Regions from separate parts of the Homo sapiens genome. Here region 1 is linked to region 2. The links are contacts of gene promoters, found by promoter capture Hi-C in blood cells and fetal thymus (Javierre and others, 2016). All regions are on one chromosome and are shown on one strand. The core of a region is centred on a gene start or on the middle of the fragment in contact, and the rest is flanking DNA. Distances in the headings are between cores, read along the strand shown.

Region 1 (5,644 bases), core at 844-3,343, 90 kb after region 2:
ACTCGGGATGCTGAAGCAGGACAATAGCTTGAACCCGGGGGGTGAAGGTTGCAGTGAGCTGAGATTGCGCCACTGCACTCCAGCCTGGACGACAGAGGGAGACTCTGTCTCAAAAATATAGATAGATACATGATAGATAGATACATAGATAGATAGATAGATAGATAGATAGATAGACAGATAATTTTATCTTTTAGTCTATACATATATATATGTTCAAGGTGACTAGAAGATAAAGTGATTTACAAATTGAATGTTCAAGGTGACTAGAAGATAAAATGATTTACAAAAATGAAGTAGCAGAGCTCATTCCTGGCATAGTGGATAAGGGCACACACATTGGAGTCAGAGAGATTTGATTTTGAATTCTTGCTGTAGCATTAATAAGGCCATTTAGTGTAAGGCTTAAAAGCAAGGGTTGCCTGGGATTTGAATCCCAGCTCCACCATTACTGAATGTGTGACTTTGGGCAAGTCATTTAACTTCTCTATGCCTTAGTTTCCTCACCCAGAAAGTGAGGATAATGATACTACTTGCCTTGTAAGAAGATTAAAAGAGTTAACATTAGTTTAATGGTTAGAACAGTGCTATGTGCATGCTTGACTTTCCCCTCTTCCTTTGCCTTGTCTGGTTTTCTTTTTTTTTTTTTAATTTTAATTTTAATATTTATTTTAAGTTCTGTGGTACATGTGCAGGATGTGCAGGTTTGTTACATAGGTAAATGTTTGCCGTGGTGGTTTGCTGCACCTAAATACCCATCACCTCAGTATTAAGCCCAGTGTGCATTAGCTATTTTTCCTAATGTTCTCCCTTCCCCCACCTCACTCCCAGACAGGCCCCAGTGTGTGCTGTTCCCTTCCCTGTATTCATGTGTTCTCACTGTTCAGCTCCAGCTTATAAGTGAGAACATGTGGTGTTTGGTTTTCTGTTCCTGTGTTAGTTTGCTGAGGATAATGGCTTCCAGCTCCATCCATGTCCCTGCAAAGGACATGATCTCATCCTTTTTATGGCAGTATAGTATTCCATGATATATATGTACCATATTTTCTTTATTCAGTCTATCATCATTGGGCATCTGGGTTGATTCCATGTCTTTGCTATTGTGAAAAGTGCTGTAATGAACATATGTATGCATGTATCTTTGTAACAGAATGATTTATATTCCTTTGGATACATACCCAGTAATGGGATTGCCAGGTCAAATGGTATTTCTGGTTCTAGATCTTTGAGGAATCACTACACCATCTTCCACAATGGTTGAACTAATTTACATTCCCACCAACAGTGTAAAAGCATTCTTATTTCTCTGCAAACTCACCAGCATCTATTGTTTCTTGACTTTTTAATAATCACCATTCTGATTGGCGTGAGATGGTATCTCATTCTTTTAATGAAGACCCATTGTGGGACGCCTGGAATCTCAAAGTAGCATGCAACCATAGTTTGCAAATGAAAGGTGAAAGCTATAGTCTGTCTTATCAATACCTTTTTTTTTTTTTTTTTGAGACAGAGTCTCGCTCTGTCACCAGGCTGGAGTGCAGTGGAGCAATCTCGGCTCGGCTCACTGCAATAACCGCCTCCCTGGTTCAAGCAATTCTCCTGCCTCAGCCTCCTGAGTAGTGGGGATTACAGGCATGCGCCACCATGCCCAGCTAATATTTGTATTTTTAGTAGAGATGCAGTTTCACCATGTTTGCCAGGATGGTCTTGATTTCCTCACCTCGTGATCTGCCCGCCTCGGCCTCCCAAAGTGCTGGGATTACAGGCGTGAGCCACTGTGCCTGGCCCCAATATTTTTAAGAAAAGTGACGACTTTAATGTTGTGTGTTACTCCCACCCTGAAGTCACAATTGGCTTCTGGCAGGCCAGTAACAGACTCCATGAGCAAGGATAGCATGTTCTCAGTCATGACGTCTTGGATATTGTGAAGTGCAACCAAAAGAGAGACTTGTAAAGGATCTCTTTTGCAAATTCATCTATTTCATCCATTTCCACTTCTTCCATTTTATCCACTCTTCTGGAAAGTATTACTTTTGTGCCTGAATGTTCCAACTTACTGATTTTTAAGGAGACAGAAACACTCAGGATATTTTTATATCTGATTTGAGATTTGAAAGGATTTGGCCTTTATATTACTTCCTATTTTTAAATACTTTGGAAGAATATAGATTTGACTCATTGCTTTATTCTTTTAATAACAAGGAAAATGGTAACTCATTGGCTAAAATATTGCATAAAGTTAAACATTATATTTTGTAAAGTCAGATTTACTCACCAAATCATGGGGAAAAAAGTAACAAACATGATAGTAAATGATGGCGATCATCCACTGATTTAAATTAATAGAGCTACAACATTTTACCGCAAATAAAGTTTCTGTTAGTGCATAACAAAAGGGCAGTCTGCAGATGTAACCAAGACACAAAAGTGTTGCATATTCAGAAAGAAGACTGGGTTTAAGTAGACTTTTATCACAAAGGAAGGGGACAATAGAGACTCTGACTTCCATTTTTCATTGTTTTTTATCTTTGAAAGAGAAATAAAGGAACTTTCCCTTAGCATAATAAAGAGTCAAAGTCAACAGTATTCACAGTGAAGAAGAAGTCACTCTCCTTAGAAGTAGTAAAAATCAAAATAAAACAAAAATCAGATATGTATACTGATATGTATACTTTGCTTCAATATATTATTTGGGGCTGGGCACGGTGGCTCACGCCTGTAATCCCAGCACTTTGGGAGGCCGAGGCAGGTGGATCACGAGGTCAGGAGATCGAGACCATCCTGGCTAACAAGGCGAAACCCCGTCTCTAATAAAAATGCAAAAAAAATTAGTTGGGCGTGGTGCTGGGTGCCTGTAGTCCCAGCTACTCGGGAGGCTGAGGCAGGAGAATGGCATGAACCCCAGAGGTGGAGCTTGCAGTGAGCCGAGATCATGCCACTGCACTCCAGCCTGGGCAACAGAGCGAGACCCCATCTCAAAATATATATATTATTTGGAACTCTTCTTGGTCATCCAAATAAGGTGAGGAAAAGAAAAGAGGGTAAGTATAGAAATGAAAATGATAAAAAGTTATGCTTTACAGGCCGGGTGCGGTGGCCCATGCCTGTAATCCCAGCACTTTGGGAGGCCGAGGCGGGTGGATCATGAGGTCAGGAAATCAAGACCATCCTGGCTAACACGGTGAAACTCCGTCTCTACTAAAAATACAAAAAAATTAGCCAGGCGTGGTGAAGGGCACCTGTAGTCCCAGCTACTTGAGAGGGTGAGGCAGAAGAATGGCATGAACCCAGGACACAGAGCTTGCAGTGAGCCAAGATTGTGCCACTGCACCCCAGGGACAGAGCGAGACTCTGTCTCAAAAAAAAAAAAAAAAAAAAAGTTATGCCTTACAAATAATACATTTTGTGAAAATAAAAAATAACATGAATGAGAAAGTGAAAAGACAACTCACAGAATGGAAGAAAATATTTTCAAATCATATAGCCAATAAGACTTGTACCTAGAATATATAAAGATCCCTTACAAGTCAACAATTTTTAAAAAATCCAATTTAAAAACCAACAAAGGATTTGAATAGACATTTCTTAAAGGAAGATATACAAATGGCCAATAAGGACATTAAAAAGATGCACAACATCGTTAGCCATTAAGAAAGTGGAAATCAAAACCACAATGAGGTGCCACTTCACCCCACTAGAATGACTAAAATGAAAAAGACACATTGCTGGTGGAAATATAAAATAAGGCAACGATTTAGGAAAATAATGTATCAGTTCCTTAAAAAGTTAGTTACCATGTGACTCAGCAATTTCACTTCAAGGTATATACCCAAGAGGCGTGAAAACATACGTCCACACAGTAACCTCTACAAAAATACTATGGACTGAATGTTTGTGTCCCTCTTTAAATTCTTAAGTTGAAGTCCTAATTCTCAATGTGATTGTATTTGGAGTTGGGGCTCTCGGGAGACAATTACGTTTAGATGAGGTCATGAGGGTGGACCCCATGATGGGATTAATATAAGAAGATGAAGGGACAAGCCCATGTGAGGAAACAGCAAGTAGGGGCCATCGACAAACCAGGATGAGAGAGCCCTTACTAAGAACTCTACCATGCTGGGACCCTGATCGCAAACCTCCAGCCTCCAGACTATGAGAAAAAAAGTTCATTTTTGAAGTCATCCAGTCTATGATATTTGATACAGCAGCCCAAGCTGACTGAGACAACAAATGTTCACGGCAGCATTATTCACAATCATCAAAAAGTAGAAACAACCCAAATGTCCACCAACTGAATGGATAAATAAAAGGTGATATATTCATACAATGGAATATTATTTGGTTAAAAGAAGAAAAAGTAATGAAGTTCTTATACATTCTGCAACATACCTGGAAAAAACATGCTAAGTGAAAGAAGCCAGTCACAAAAGGCCACATATTGTATGAATCCATTTATGTGAAATGTCCAGAATATATAAATCCATGAAGACAGAAAGTATAGTAGTGGTTACCAGAGTTTGGGGGAGGAGGAAATAAGGGGTGACTGCTAATGCATATGGAGTTTCTCTTGCGGTGATGAAAATTTCTTTGTTTTATTTATTTTTATTTTTTAGAGACAGTCTTGCTCTGTCACCCAGGCTGGAGTGCAGTGGCGCAATCATGGTTCACTGCAGCCTCAATCTCCCTGGCTCAAGTGATCCTCCCACCTCAGCTTCTGAAGTAGCAGGGATTATAGGTATGAGCCACCACACCTTGCTGAAAATTTCTAAAAGTAGATAGCAGTGGACTCAGTAAACATACTAACAACCACTGAATTGCACACTTTTAAAGAGTGAATTTTATGGCATGTAAATTATATCTTAATAAAGCTGGTACCAAAAAACAAGAATCAATAAACCAAAAAAAAAAATCAATAAACCAATTCCTAGAAAATATATAGATATGATACATTAGCTCATAGTAACAGAATAACTTAATTTTAATGGCAAAAATAAGCCTCAACAGATATCCTCTGCTCTTGCATAAATATATTACAAATAATAATAGTCTCCAAGGTAATTATAGATATAATAAAATAAAACTTAATCTCAAGACACTAACATGATCAACTATAAAATTTGGTAAAATGAAAGCAAAATGTAGATATTTTTAAAAAGATAATACCAAAGGAAATGATTAGGAACTTGGCTTGCTATACTTTAAAATGCATCTTTCCACAGACTGGGAGAAAATTTTTGCAAAAGATATATCTGATAAAAAGAAGTGTTATCTAAAACATACAAAGAACTCTTAAAAGTCAACAATTTTTTTAAAAAACACCAAATTTTAAAATGAGCAAAAGATGTGAACAGACACTTCACCAAGGAGGATATACAGACAGTAAATAAGCATATGAAAAGATGCACAATGTCATGTTAGTGAGTTGCAAATTCAAACAACAATGAAGCAGGGTGAAGTGGCTCACACCAGCCTGTAATCCTAGTACTTTAGGAGACTGAGAAGGGAGGATTTCTTGAGCCCAGGACTTCAAGACCTGGACAATATAGTGAGACCTCATCTCTACAAAAAATAAACAAAATAAGCCAGGTGTGGTGGATTATAGTCCCAGCTACCAGGGAGGCTGAGGTGGAAGGATCACTTGATC
Region 2 (6,194 bases), core at 1,061-3,560:
AGGGATTTTCCACCCCCAAGAACTTAGACCATACTAGGTTTCGAGTTTGTTTTTGTTTGTTTGTTTCTTTTTGTTTGTTTGTTTTTGTTTTGTTTTAGATGGAGTCTTGCTCTGTTGCCAGGCTGGAGTGCAGTGGTGCGATCTCACCTCACTGCAACCTCTGCCTCCCTGGTTCAAGCAATTCCCCTGCCTCAGCCTCCTGAGTAGCTGGGACTATAGGCGCACACCACCACGCTCGGCTAATTTTTTTGTGTGTTTTAGTAGAGACAGGGTTTCACCATGTTGCTCAAGGATGGTCTCGATCTCCTCAACTCGTCATCCACCTGCCTCAGCCTCCCAAAGTGCTGGGATTAACAGGCGTGAGCCACCACGCCCGGCCGGTTTTGAGTTTTAATAAGTTTTGGGTCATCTGTGCTGGGGGGTAAGACAAGAGGGGCCACTGGAGCAGCCTGGGGGTGGAGGAAGAGGAGTAGTGGGCTGGGGCCGGTCAAGGATGGAAGCCCAGCAGGAAGACTGAAATCTTTTCTGCTTGGAGGGCTAGAATTGAGTTATTTTATCATCACAAAATTATACTTTGTGCTATTTGTATTTTCATGCTGTTTAAATTTGTATAATTATTTCTTTTTGTTCATTTGGGGTTAACATTAACTACGGAAATTCTGAAACTTGAACACATTAGGGTCACCTGGGCTGCCGGTTAAATACACGCTTCCCACCCACCCCACATTCACTGAACCTGAATCTCTAAAACAGAGCTGGGAAGGTGCCTGGTTAACCTGCTCTCCAGGTGATTCAGATGCAGGTCAGACCTACTTCTAAGGATAATGGAATCTAAAGGAGAAAGAAGCATCCTTAAGGGCCAGATCGATGGTGATGCTGACCTCTGAAGTCAAAGTGGGGAAAACCCTCAAGGAAAAGTGACACCCAAAAGAGAAATGACTAATATCACACAGTTGCCCTTCTGAGCACTCCTTGGTAAAATTAATCCTAGGAAAACATGGTATTTTGTTTTCATAAGGGCCATGAGCCAAGCATATCTCCTGTCCCCCTCCTTCCTTCCTTCTGTGCGCCATTCTTTTTCTGTTTCATTTTTCCTTTTTGGATCCCTGCTTGGGCACTCTAATTGCATGGCCTCAGCCTCAGCCTCCTTGCCTCTCCTCTGGCCCGAATGCTTCTCCAAATCTAGCGACATGAAAGCGGAATTAGGGGTTGACTAGATCCCGATAGGTCATCATCCATAAGATGCCAGTGGAAAAGGTGCCCATTCTGGGAGCTGCAGGTCACTGGCTTCCCATTGCAGACCAGGGAGGCCCTTGAGCCAGCAGATCACCTCTGGGCTCTTGGCCCACCAAGTAGTGGTGGGTCTGTAAGGAGGGAACTTTGCCGACTTTCCCTCCAAAGCTCAAATCTCCCAACCCACAATCACTTCAGAATATCATCCTTGCTCCCAATCTGAGGGCCACTAGAGACTCGGAGAAGAGGCCCCGGCAGGCCCTCGACAATGGGCACCTGTGGTCGATCGACAGCCCCTCCAATGTGGCCGCTGTGACGGCTCTACGTTGACATTCAGGCAGTGTGATTTTAGGTAGCGCCTCTGCCCCTCTCCCAAGTGACCCCGGGACCCCTGGGAATCTCCAAGAACCACAAGGAATCTCTGTGACTTGCCACGTTTCTTAATCAGTTTCCTTCCCCACACAAGAATAATAACAACAGGAAAAGACAGAAAAGGATGATAAGAGGATAGACTCACTTCCACAACAACAACAACAAACAATAACACCACCACAACAGGGAAAGACAGAAAACGATCGAGGGATAAAGAGTTACTTGCGCGGTTCCGCCGCCACCTCCGGGCCGCGCCATTAAGCGCCTGGAAGCGCAGGGCGCCGGGGAACCGCAGCGCCCCGGGTGCGCTCGGAATCCATTCTGCCGCCCCCGCCCCCGCCCCCGCCCCGGCCACCTCCGCTACAGCAGCCGCCGAAGTCGGGCGGGTCACCCTCCCGTGCGTGCCCTGCCGCCATTTCCCTGGAGGGAGGGCAGAGGTGCCCCCTCCTCACCCCACCCCTCGCGCCCCTCACCGTCCTCCGGGTAGAAGAACACCAGGAAGCGGGATGGGCTCCTGGGATCCTGGCGGACCTCACACTCGCCGCCTCCCGACCTCTTCGGGCTCTGGAAGTACATCTGCAACTTGGTGTTCAAGTTCTTCGGGGGGTCGGGGCCCCAGGAGCCCTCGACCAGCAGCGGGAAGGAGCCGGGCACAGCCATCCTCAGCTCCGCTCTCCGCCGGACTGCAGGGGCCGCGCCAACTCCGGGCCGCTAACTTTGACTCTTTCGCTTTCGTTTCCTGGAAAACTCCCAGGCCTTGGTTTCCTTTTGCCTTCAGCCTAACACAGCGGACCCAGGAATGGCAGAGTCATCCCCCGCCCACCTCCCCACCTTCGCATTCGGCCCACAGCCAAGGCCAAAGTAACCCTTTGGGGCTGGCCAGCGGCGCCCCGGGAAGGCGGCCTCAGTTCACCTGTGCTCCACGGGCTCCCACACCCCCTCCTAACTCCGGGCCCCCTACCTGCCGCTCGCCCCAACCGCAGATCAAGTCGGCAGCTTTGGGGCACCAGACCTTGCCCAAACGCAAAGATCATTTAATTTTTGCCGCAAGCCGACCCTTTACAAAAGAATAAAATGACTCACAAACTGTGGCCCCTTTAGAATGTTTGCTGCCTATTTGGGGACTTTTTCAGCAATCATTGTGATTATCAGAATTTTACGTTGCTTTCCCTGTTTTGCTTTCTGTTCCTTGATCTGTTAATACTACATGTCTAGAAATGTGGGGGAAACAATTACACTCACAGTTTTTTTTGTGGAATATTTACTAGGCGCCATGCACTCACTCACTGAACCCTCGCTGAGCTCACGGAGCTATGGTGAACACAGTGGGCAATAGGTGCTCTGGGAAAGAATATACTTGTGTTCCTGGAACAGATGAGGAGTGGCTCCTAGTCCAGCTGTGGCGGCTCAGGGAGGGTTTATAGGGCGGTGACATGTAACCTGATAACCCCAGGATATCAGGGGATAGCCTTGGAGGGTTAGGAAGTGGGGTTCCACGGTGTGATTCACATGTACAGGATCACTCCGGCTGCTGCGTGGTGGCTAGAGTGGAGGCAGAGAGATCAGCCAAGTGGCTACCATAGTGTCCTAAGTGAGAGACAAGGGTGGCTGAGACTGGGGTGCTGGCAGAGAAGAACTGAGAAAACGAGGATTCTCAATTAATAGTGAAAGCAGGACTTGCTGAAGAATGTGAGCCTTGAGAGAAGGAGAAGCTCAAGGATGACTCCATGGTCAGCCATGGATGGCCCGTGCAAGTGGCTGGATAATAGTGGCATCTGCAAGAGGGGAGGCCGAGTGATGGGAGAGAAGCTGGGGCTGTGTGTTTCCTTGACCCCAAATAAAGCAGTGTTGCAAGTCGAGGGGGGCGGGGGGATTATCATTCCAGTGCTACCGATACCTCAGGTCAGAGAAGTGTCTGCTGGACTGCTGAGGAGCGGCAAGCATAGTCTCCTGGTGAGGAGGGAGGAGAGGGAGATGGCAGCTACTGAAGACTGAAAGGGAGGGAAGGAAGTGGAAGCAGAGAGCGTAACACGCTCTTTGCAGAAATGTGACCGTGAAGGGGAAGAAGGAGCCAGGCAGTAGGTTGTGGGGTTACAGGATCGGGCTGAATTTCAGAATGAAGAGAACCAGAGATGGGCCAAATGGTTTACCTGGCTTTTATTTCGGCTCTGTAATAATCCTAAACAGTACACAGATATTTTCTCCTGCCTCCAGCTTGCTACCTGCAGATGGCGCTCATCATCTGATCCAAAACTGCTCTGGACCCCCGCATGCGGAAGACGGGAGGACAAGCGCCCTCAGCCAGACTTGGTGACTGTTTCTCCCCAGGGCCTTTACATCTCATCCCAAACCACAACTAAAATCAGCACTCCTCCTCTCCCACTCTCCCCTGAGTTTGGGGTTCCAGAACTCAGCAAAAAGTTTCCCTTTTTCCTCACATAATTATTGTATAAGAAATAAAGTCAGAGGCATTTCTGGATTACTTTCGAGGATTTATTTAATTATCGACAATGTGTCTTACCACCGAGGTCTGCTTATCATGCCTGGGTGGACTGGGAAGGAGCTATCAGAGGATCAGGATGGCAGGTCTTGAAAGCCAAGGAAAGAAAGTTCTAGAAGGGGCAAATTGTTGAACGGCATTAGCTCCTGCAGTACTTTGTTTTCTGCAAGTTATTTTTGCCTTGTTCACTTGAAGAATGCGTATCCTCTCACAATTCTCTGTTTCCTGTGGGTATCTGCCTTCTGATCCTTTCTTCCTGGGAAGCACGTGTCTTCTCAGGGCCTGGGGTGGGGGTGGCCTGCTGTAGAAGTGGCCGTGTTCCTTGATTCTCCTTCTACTTCACAGCTACAGCTCATCTTAATGTAACAGCCCATGTCTGCATTTTTGGGCTGAACTTCCCTTTCCCTACTTCATCTAAATTCCCCCTTTTGGTTTCTCTACAAACTGCCGTAGCCTAGCATCGTGCTCTTTTGAACTTCTCTACCAACTAGCATCAGCCTCCTCATTTCTACCATTGAGGTATAAAGGAGGGAAAGGGCTGCTTTCCCTTCTGTCCTGAATCAGTGAGTTGTAGGTACCTCATGCCCACCACTCCACCTCATTTTGCTTCTGAAACTCCTGACCTAGTCACCCCAAAATAAGACATGGCCATACATCAAGGGAAAAGTACTCCAAGAAGTTCTACCCTCAGAGGGAGCCCCCTGATGGACACATCACAGTCTTTGGCCTTACTCCCTATGCTCAGGTACCTTTCAAGAGCTTTTATCTTCAAACCTCCATAGGGACAGTCTCCATACCCCTCAACTGGCCAGGACAGTAATTACTACTGATGCATTTTCCCAAATAGAAGTAATTTCGTTTCACCAATACTATGGTTGAGTGGGAGGTGGAGGTGGCTTCTCCAGAAGAGTCCAGAGTAGACTTGATCTTTCCGTGTTTGTGTAAAGACCTTTCCTCATCATGCAATTAGGTAACCATTGAATTGAACACACATGTGTATGTCTCAAGACAAGCATTCATTTTCAGTATAATCTAGATCATATTTTTTTAAATAGAAACACACAATATTTTACTACCACACTATATCATGCATGACACCTACCAGTAATGGCTGTTAAATATTGAGCAACCAGATTTTTGAAACAAAGTTTCCATGTGTGTTATGTTTATTATAAATTTTACTGATATAATGGTTGGATAACACATAATTTACAAATAATAACAAAATATATAATACTCTATTGTAGTTTCTAAATAGCTGATTGATTCTCAAAGAATGTTTCAAAGATTTTTGCCACAATTATATCTATACTAATCATTCTGGATTTTGTTTCTTTGAATTATTGGGCAGGGAAGATACTTAAGTATGGAAGATTATTGCTCTAATTTGGGTGAAATAAAAGTTTATTAGTGCAAGACAAACATAACTCATTTAACAATAAAGTTTGTGTTGGATATATATATATATATATATATATTTTTTTTTTTTTTTTTTTTTTAAAGCCATAGGCAAACTATGGTTGCCATTGAGGAATGAGTGTAGTTTTGACATAAATGTAAGTTGACACTTTTGTTTACATTAACAAGTAAAATGAAAGTGAAGCAATGCAGACATGTCAGAACCCTTATTTGTCAATGACATAATTCCTTCTTTACTAAATTGGATAATAATTTTCAAATACTGGAAGAATATTTCCTCAATTTTTTGTGCTTTTTACAATGTAATGGCTATAGATGTGACCCACTTTTAAATAATCTGCCCTGTTAGCAAATTCTCCATCACTTTAAGTCAAGATAACCAACAAAGCAACGACTCAGGCCCTGATGTGTAGTGTTTTTCAATTCCATGATGTAAATATTCTCACAACAGCTGATGAAGTTCCCAGTGTGATTTCAGTGAATGCCGAGTTGGAAAGAGATGAACAGTGGCACACCATTACAAATATCACAGATATTTATTATCTAAAAGCTCCAAGTCCTAGATCCATCAAAGCCTGAGGCAGGACGTTTTTATTGGATTATGGACTGCCTGGAAATGTAGCTACAGAGTCAATGTGGTAATCAAATTTAAAGAAAAACAACAAAAACT

What was found. The method cuts DNA at HindIII sites, captures the fragments that hold promoters and counts their contacts. A CHiCAGO score of 5 or more calls a contact.
Region 1: a fragment that was not itself captured here is called in contact with the fragment with the promoter of PARP14 in region 2 in 1 of 17 cell types (total B cells); the score reaches 5.2 in total B cells.

The regions. Positions count from the first base shown.
Region 1 is chr3:122,587,624-122,593,267 of GRCh38, reverse strand. The region is part of intron 1 of PARP15 (poly(ADP-ribose) polymerase family member 15); the gene reads right to left. Among named protein-coding and RNA genes, the nearest start is that of PARP15, 13 kb to the right of the region's middle. The HindIII fragment of the contact is 7,907 bases long and covers 1-5,644 here.
Region 2 is chr3:122,676,955-122,683,148 of GRCh38, reverse strand. PARP14 (poly(ADP-ribose) polymerase family member 14) reads right to left here and starts at 2,310. Exons shown (of 17, transcript NM_017554.3): 1 at 2,079-2,310. The coding sequence starts at 2,265. RefSeq lists enhancers at 1-86, 1,572-1,661, 2,203-2,602, 2,027-2,799, 3,203-3,322 and 1 more and a silencer at 1,913-1,962. The HindIII fragment of the contact is 13,941 bases long and covers 1-6,194 here.